3 separate regions of the Homo sapiens genome follow, and all the other regions are linked to region 2. Evidence: promoter capture Hi-C in 16 types of primary human blood cells and fetal thymus (Javierre and others, 2016). All regions are on one chromosome and are shown on one strand. The core of a region is centred on a gene start or on the middle of the fragment in contact, and the rest is flanking DNA. Distances in the headings are between cores, read along the strand shown. Region 1 has its middle 13 kb from the start of LINC01398. Region 2 holds the start of TEX38 (testis expressed 38). Region 3 overlaps DMBX1 (diencephalon/mesencephalon homeobox 1).

The links. Contacts are between HindIII fragments. The CHiCAGO score rates a contact against its expected background, and 5 or more counts as called.
Region 1: a fragment that was not itself captured here is called in contact with the fragment with the promoter of TEX38 in region 2 in 2 of 17 cell types (erythroblasts and megakaryocytes); the score reaches 6.0 in erythroblasts.
Region 3: a fragment that was not itself captured here is called in contact with the fragment with the promoter of TEX38 in region 2 in 1 of 17 cell types (neutrophils); the score reaches 5.4 in neutrophils.

What each region holds. Positions count from the first base shown.
Region 1 is chr1:46,434,891-46,437,646 of GRCh38, forward strand. It overlaps the pseudogene FAAHP1. Among named protein-coding and RNA genes, the nearest start is that of LINC01398, 13 kb to the right of the region's middle. The HindIII fragment of the contact is 2,886 bases long and covers 1-2,756 here.
Region 2 is chr1:46,670,589-46,673,288 of GRCh38, forward strand. It overlaps TEX38 (testis expressed 38), which reads left to right and starts at 1,266. Exons shown (of 2, transcript NM_001145474.4): 1 at 1,266-1,383; 2 at 2,285-2,700. The coding sequence starts at 1,347. The HindIII fragment of the contact is 3,767 bases long and covers 279-2,700 here.
Region 3 is chr1:46,508,590-46,511,289 of GRCh38, forward strand. It overlaps DMBX1 (diencephalon/mesencephalon homeobox 1), which reads left to right. Exons shown (of 6, transcript NM_172225.2): 4 at 1,887-2,065; 5 at 2,346-2,694. Among named protein-coding and RNA genes, the nearest start is that of DMBX1, 20 kb to the left of the region's middle. The HindIII fragment of the contact is 5,483 bases long and covers 1-2,700 here.

The DNA.
Region 1 (2,756 bases), core at 118-2,617, 240 kb before region 2:
TTTGAGGGCCAGACATGCCAAGATGATGTGGCGTCTAGAAGGCTGTAAGATTGTTTGTAAGCGGCTGACTTTGCCTGCAGCAATATGCACGTGTGGAAGGGCTAGAAGGGGAAGCCATGGAGAGTTAGAGTCTTGAAAAGCAGTCAAAGAGATCAGACTATGCTGTGGGCAGCAGAGGGTCAGGGAATGTTGAAGCAGCTCCTATTTTTGTGGGCTGCGCCCTGGGGGAGCACATCGCCTGGGTGCTCAAGCCTCCTAGCACCCAGGCCCCTCCCTTCACATGCTGAGCTGGGCTCTGGGTCGGAATGTTTTGCAGCTACACTGGAATTGCCTCTGCCATCAAGGGGAAAAAAATCGGGTAAGTCCTGGTCTGTGCCTGTGGCCACCCCATTTAAAGATGAAACTGCCAGTCTTTCTCCCAAGGACATTTTGCTCAGCTCATATCTCCAGACAGATCAGCCCCACAGATGATGACTGAGAGGGCAGACTGCATGGTTCCCACCTGGCCTCCCCTTGTCCAGTGACTCTTGGCCCTCTGAGAAGGGCTTTTGTCCTGCTATCTAGCTTTAATCTCTTCCTTCGTCCTGACCATGACCCTGGAACCCACCCTCTGAGGCCAGGCAGTTGGGATCCCCAGGGCACAACAAATGAGAGGTGCTTGCTGGGCGCAGTGGCTCATGCCTGTAATCCCAGCACTTTGGGAGGCTGAGGTGGGCGATCACTTGAGGTCAGGAATTCGAGACCAGCCTGGCCAACATGGTGAAACCCCGTCTCTACTAGAAATACAAAAATTAGCCAGGTGTGGTGGCGGGCACCTGTAATTCCAGCTACTGGGGAGGCTGAGGCAGGAGAATCACTTGAACCCGGGAGGTGGAGGTTGTAGTAAGCAGAGATGGTGCCACTGCACTCCAGCCTGGGTGACAGAGAAAAACTTCGTCTCAAAAACCAACAAACAAAAAACAAAACACAACAAGCAAACAAAACGAGAGGTGCCTGCCTCTCTCCCCTCCTCTTTGTGCAGTGACCACGGTGGCTGGCCCCATGGCCCAGGACGTGGAGAGCCTGGCGCTGTGCCTGCAAGCCCTGCTGAGTGAAGACATGTACCGACTGGACCCCACTGTGCTCCAGATGCCCTTTAGGGAGGAGGTAAGCCAGGTGGGAGAGCAGACCTGGGGGTTTCCTTGCCCCCCACCATCATTCCTCCCTGACCTGTCTGCCATCTTACCTTCCCAGGTGAAGACCCCCTTTCCCACCCCAGGCTGCAGTGAGTGAGAAGCCCACATGCTCAGTCCAGTTTGTTTCCTTCCCCTGCTGGACACCAGCTGCTTTGGCTTCTTGGCTATCTGGAGCCATAGCTTGTAAGTGCCCCCAAAGAGGGCCTCCAGTGCCATATACCCAACCCATGCAGTTAGAATACTCAGCAAGTGTGGTTGAGAGGGTGTGGCATCCAGTTAAGCTGGGTTTTTAACCCTCTAGGTAACCCTGGCCAAGTCACATCTCTTCTTTCAGCCTTAGCCTCCCCATCAATACAATAAAGAGGTTAGGCTGGGAGATTACTCCACACCCTTCTGTCTACAGCAGCCTTCATTTATTCGTTAATTCATTCAACAACATTTGCTTGTACCAGTTGTGTGCCAGGCTCTGCGTGTCTCATCCTAACACTCTATAGAGTGAGCAGTGCTCCTCCCATTTACAGCTGGGGAGACTGAGGGGAAGTGAAATGACTTGCCTAAGATCATGTAGTTAGTAACTGGCAGAGCTGGCTTTGAACCCAGCCCTATCTAACTGCAGAACCCTCTCCATAGGGCAGTTTCTGTCTACGTCCCGGCAATGTCTGTTCCTCGGATTCCCTACACCCCTCCTAGCATTATCAACCTGAGATCATTGTATATCATCCATGATTTGCCCCTACAAACATGTGTTGTGTGACGGGTGAGGGGCGGCTGCCTTTCTGGCAGCACCCCACTTCCCAGGACTAGGGGCCCTCCATCTCAGACCCTGGTCTGGGTATTTGTCCCTATAGATCTCCAGCCTCATATTCTCCTAACATTTCTTTAGCTTAAAGATATTTGAGTCTATGCATGACTTACTCACCTGCCCACCCACTCAACTCCAACCATCCATTCACCCACTCACCCACATATGCATTCAACCCTCTGCCCACCCAACTACCCACCATCTCATACATACATCCACCCACCCACCCAGGAGTCTGTCTACCATCTATCTACTATCCACCCCATCTGCCCAACCACCCATCTCATCCATTTCTCTTTCCTCCAGGGGTTTCCGCAGAGCACCTAGAGCCTGGAGAGTATATAGGGAGGCTCCCAGGGGGTCTTGGGGTGTCCACATGGATTCCCCCCTTTGTGAGGACAGCTGTAGACCAAGGCCCTGCCCTTAAAGTCTGGCTCCTGGATAGAGTGGGGCCACCTTGTCCCCAGCACAATCTCTCCTCCGAGCTCCATCCAGCCCCTTGTGCCCCTAGGTTTACACCAGTAACCGGCCCCTTCGAATTGGCTACTATGAATCAGATGGTTACATCCAGCCATCCCCTAGCATGGCCAGGGCTGTGCAGCTCACCTCCTGGCTGCTCCAGGATGCTTGACACCAGGTAGTCTCACCTGGTCCTGGGTGAGAGAGAGTCTGGGCCAGTGCGAGGATGCTGGGCGGGGCCATCCTTGGAGACAAAGGTGGCTACATCTGCGTTTGAGGTGCTGAGATAACTGTGTTCCCCCTATGCTTCCTGGAGAAGA
Region 2 (2,700 bases), core at 16-2,515:
TAACTGATGGAATGAATGTAGATAGAGCACTAAGAACTGAGCCCTAGACATGCCTACATTTAGAGATCAGGGGAAAAGGGAGAAACCAGCAAAGGAGACTGGAAAGTAGGGGCCAGTGATATACGAGGAGAACAAGGGTAAGTGGACCCTGGAGAGAATTCTGTGCTAAATAGTTCCCTAAGTCACACATTGGAGGACTATAAAGAGGGGAGTCATTAAAATGGTGCTAAGAAGCTGAGCTACAAGCAGTGGTGCAACATACTGGGAAGGCTGACTTAAGCTTAATTAGGGAAGGGCTTTCTAACTGAGCTGCCCATAAATGCATCAAGCTGCCTCAGGAGGTGGTGAGCAAGTTCCTGACTCAAGTGAGTCTTGAGTCCAGGGAGATTAGTTGCTGTGTGGGGAAAAATCTACCCCCAGGAGTCAAGCATGGCCCTGATGGTGGGATCAGATGGTGGAGATGAACTAGACAACTCTCAAAGTTTCTTCAAATTGGCGATGATATGATTCTGGGCAGTCTGTCACAGAGTAGGGGGGCTGAGCTGAGTCTTGAAGGATGAGCAGGTGTTCAGTGGTGGAAAAGTGGGCAGGGGCACTCCTGGGTGAAGGAGCAGCATGGGCACACCTCCAGAGATGTGAATGAGCAGGGTCTGTTCAGGAGTACGGACTAGGCAAAAGGGAAAAGTGTGTGGAGGACGAGGAGGGAAGTAAGGCTGGAAGTAGATGCAGGCCAGATGGTGGGAAGCCCCACAGGGCCTGGGGCCTGGGAAACACTTGTCAGCACTTGAAGGAAGGTAATTAAATAAAAGACAGATTGTTGGAGCCAAAGAAGGAGGTATTGACCACTTGGTTCCCTTGAGCAGGTTTCTTCCTGCCAACTTGGTTAGATACTTTTTGAGAACAGGGCTGCCCAATGCTGTGTGTTCCTTGTTACATTCCTCACTGGGGACAGGTATCCCATCAACCGTTCCCTAAAGACCAGCAACATCCGTAAGTACCTGAGGGACAATGGCCCTTTTCTGGGGTCTGCTCTGTGGGTTCACCATAAGGGGTAGGTACAGACAATTCAATAGGTGAACCAGTCTCTGATGGAAGTAGTAGTGACATTCCACCCAAAAAATGCCACTGGATGAAGTCCCCTCCTTCCATTAACCCAGGACCACTTCACAAGCACTGCCCCTAGAATGCCCAATTCTCAGAACCCAGTGACCTCTCCTTTAGAGAACAAAGGGCCTGGGCATTCTGGAGACTCTGATTGGCTGGGCAGATGGGCTGACTGGCTGGGCAGATGGGTGGGTGAGTTCCCTCTCCCCAGAGCCATCGGCCAGGTACCAAAGCTCAGCTGTATGGATTCCCAACAGGAGGACCTGCGCTTCCCTGGGAGTAAGTGCTCCTCCAGTCCCTGTCACTGGACTTGTGCCTTAGGGCTTGGGGACAAACACTCAGGGAAGGCCCTTTGCATGGATGGGACAGTGCCTGGCTGCCTGGAGGAGAGCTAAGCAGTTAGGAGATAGTCTACTCTAGAAAACTAAGAATTATTTTAAGGCAAAGACCATGCTCTGATCAACCAGAGAAGATACTATCAATAGCCCAGGACTATCACAGCTGAATGGAATGGGATGGGACATTGGTGTCTCTGTCAACTGATGAACTTTCACTTTTTTTTTTTTTTTTGAGATGAAGTTTTGCTCTGTTGCCCCGGCTGGAGTGCAGTGGCTCAATCTAGGCTCACTGTAACCTCCACCTCCTGGATTCAAGTGATTCTCCTGCCTCAGCCTCTGAAGTAGCTGGGACTGCAGGCATGCACCACCACACCTGGCTAATTTTAAAATTTTTAGTAGAGACGGGGTTTCACCATGTTGGCCAGGCTGGACTTGAAGTCCTGACCTCAAGTGATCTGCCCACCTGGGCCTCACAAAGTGCTGGTGAACTTTTGCTTCTTGATGGACTTGCCCATAGTGAAACTTCTCAGTCTGATGGATTGGATGGGTCCTGGGTTAGGAATCAGAGGCTTGACTGAGCCTGGGCAGCACATGCCCCCGCTAGACCTAGCTTTTGTGATCTGTAAAGAGTTAAAGGTGGTGCTTAAGCTCCCTGGAAATCTAGCTTTGACTGAATAAGGGAATGATGAGGCAAGTCAATAAGGGAGGGAAGGAACGGTGAGAGTAGTTAAGTGGATGGAGCGATTGATGCATGGGTTAAGTGAAAGAGGAATGAGAAACAGCTCAGGCCCCAAGCTACAGCTATCAGCCAGCATGCCTCTTTTTCTTTCTTGCTGCCTTAGTGTGGGTCTCATTGTACTTTGGAATCCTGGGGCTGTGTTCTGTGATAACTGGAGGGTGCATTATCTTTCTGCACTGGAGGAAGAACTTGAGGCGGGAAGAGCATGCCCAGCAGTGGGTGGAGGTGATGAGAGCTGCCACATTCACCTACAGCCCATTGTTGTACTGGATTAACAAGCGACGGCGCTACGGCATGAATGCAGCCATCAACACGGGCCCTGCCCCTGCTGTCACCAAGACTGAGACTGAGGTCCAGAATCCAGATGTTCTGTGGGATTTGGACATCCCCGAAGGCAGGAGCCATGCTGACCAAGACAGCAACCCCAAGGCGGAAGCCCCTGCTCCCCTGCAACCTGCACTGCAGCTGGCTCCACAGCAGCCCCAGGCCAGATCCCCATTCCCACTTCCCATCTTTCAG
Region 3 (2,700 bases), core at 159-2,658, 160 kb before region 2:
CAGGACCCAAGGACCAGAGCACAGAGAGGAGTCAGGGACAGGGGGCTCATGTCCGCTGGTGGGGGCAGAGGAACTGGGGTGTTCAGCCCACCCCCAACTCTCTAATTCTTAGGAAGGAAGGACATGAACTCCAAGTGAGCCTTTGTATGGAGGCCTTGCCTTCCAGCAGAGGCTCTGCCGGCGGTTTAGAGAGCCTGGCTTCCCTGTGACACCTACACGCCCCCCACCCCCCACCCCCCACCACCCCTGCAGTCCCTGGAGCCAGCAGTAGGATGCTGAGCTGTTGCTCCTTCCCCAACCAGAGTGGGGCTGACAGAGCGGTCCCCACTCCTTCCCCTGCCCCAGGATGACTCAGCTCAGGGCTGAGTCAGGCCTAGGATTAAGGTCAGTCTGTGAGGGGTTCAGGACTCTCTTTTTAAACTGAAGAAGAAGTATCTCAAAGTCTGGGGCTTCCTGGATACCCAGTTGCCTCTTCCTATTCTTTTTTTTTTTGCGGAGGGGGGATGGAGTTTTGCTCTTGTTGCCCAGGCTGGAGTGCAATGGTGCCATCTTGGCTCACTGCAACCTCCGCCTCCTGGGTTCAAGCGGTTCTCCTGCCTCAGCCTCCTGAGTAGCTGGGATTACAGGGGCCCACCACCACGCTCAGCTAATTTTTTGTATTTTTAGTAGTGACAGTGTTTCATAATGTTGGCCAGGCTGGTCTCGAACTCCTGACCTCAGGTAATCCACCCGCCCAAAGTGCTGGGATTACAGGCGTGAGCCACTGTGCCGGGCCTCCTCTTCCTATTTAGGGTGCTGTGGATGACTTCCCATTCCCTGGAGGGCGGGGGAAGGACTCTGGCACCCCTTTGCAGAGGCTGAGATGACTCAAGTTCCCTTCAGCACAAACAGGGCAGGATCCACTTATGACATGATGGGAGGCAGTGAGGAGAGCGGTTACTGTCTATCCTTCAGGGGCTAGTCAAGTGAAAGGGCTGAAGGCTATACCCCAGGATGGAGGCTAGACCTCGGCCCTAGGTAGACACCTATCCTGGGTGGTTATCATGTTACCAGACATGTGGACAGGACTGTGGAATCAATGGTCCATAGTCCTGTCTCCCCTACAAACCCACAGTGGTTGGAACCAGGTCTCTTTGTCCTTCTGTTCTTGGGGAGGCAGCCACAAGGGTCAAGACTGAGTGCAACAAGCCTTACCTGAGACGTGAGCCCTGCCACCCCCACCCTCCCCGCTCCACTCTTACCCCTTAGCCAGGCTCTCTGTTCAGGAAACAGAAGAGTAGGAGCCTGAGGCCCTGCCATCAGAGACTCTAGGCCAGCTGGGATGAGGGGGTTTACATGCAGAGGACAGAGAATCAAGTGCTGGTGAATTCTGTCTGCCTAGTCAGTCCTCCCTTGACTAGACCTTGAGATGGGTACCAGCCCAGCCTGGCTTCTCATGGGCAGGGACCAGTACTCTGATGCTAAAGAAGTCTTAGTATTCAGAATCTAAGGGCTATAGGGTCTTAGAACTCCTGTGATATGGACTTACAGATTATTAGCATCATGGAGTCTCAAAGTATACTCATAGTATCCATCTTAGGGTAATACCCACCTACCCAATCCCAATGCCAAATAATGAAGACCCCCCTCAATCATATGCCTGACAGCCATTTTTGGAGTTGAGTTAGACCTCTGTGGTCCTGATAGTGCATAATGGGGTGGAGAGACCTTGAAAGCCCACAGCCATATGGAGAGGGGATGGCTGATTTCTAAGGGTAAGGGACCAGGGCCAGCTCTGGCAGCAGCCTGGGTGTCCACAGTGGGTCAGAGCAGGATAAGATTCAAAGCTATTTCCCATAATTAAATGGGCCCCCTCTCCTTGCCCTCCAACGGCTGTACATTTCAAGACATCATCTTGGAGGCCCGTTATGGTTCCCAGCACCGCAAACAACGTCGCAGCCGCACAGCGTTCACGGCTCAGCAGCTCGAGGCCCTGGAAAAGACCTTCCAGAAGACTCACTACCCAGATGTGGTGATGCGTGAGAGGCTGGCCATGTGCACCAACCTGCCTGAGGCCCGGGTGCAGGTAGGGCCCAACTCTCCTAACTAGGCCTTGCAGACAAACACCAGCCCATCAGTCTGCCCGCTTGTCCAGGAGCCAGCATGTCATCCCTGTGCCAAGGTGCAACTGATCTCTCCATCAAAGCCTTCAGTGATAGGAGGGGAGTTTGGGAAGGGACAGAGGGTGTGCATTCCCTAGAGGGGTGGGGGGATGTTATCACGTACATCCTCTCCCAGAGCACCCTGCTCCACACCAACCCCACTTCTTTCTTGCCCACCTCGGACTGCTCCTTTCCCGTCCCCAGGTGTGGTTCAAGAACCGCCGGGCCAAGTTCCGGAAGAAGCAGCGTAGCCTGCAGAAGGAACAGCTCCAGAAGCAGAAGGAGGCTGAGGGCTCCCATGGGGAAGGCAAGGCCGAGGCCCCCACTCCAGATACCCAGCTGGACACTGAGCAGCCCCCACGTCTGCCTGGCAGCGACCCCCCTGCTGAGCTTCACCTGAGTCTGTCTGAGCAGTCAGCCAGTGAGTCAGCCCCCGAGGATCAGCCGGACCGTGAGGAGGACCCCAGGGCAGGGGCTGAGGACCCCAAAGCTGAGAAGAGCCCTGGGGCTGACAGCAAGGGGCTGGGCTGCAAGAGGGGCAGCCCCAAGGCAGGTGAGG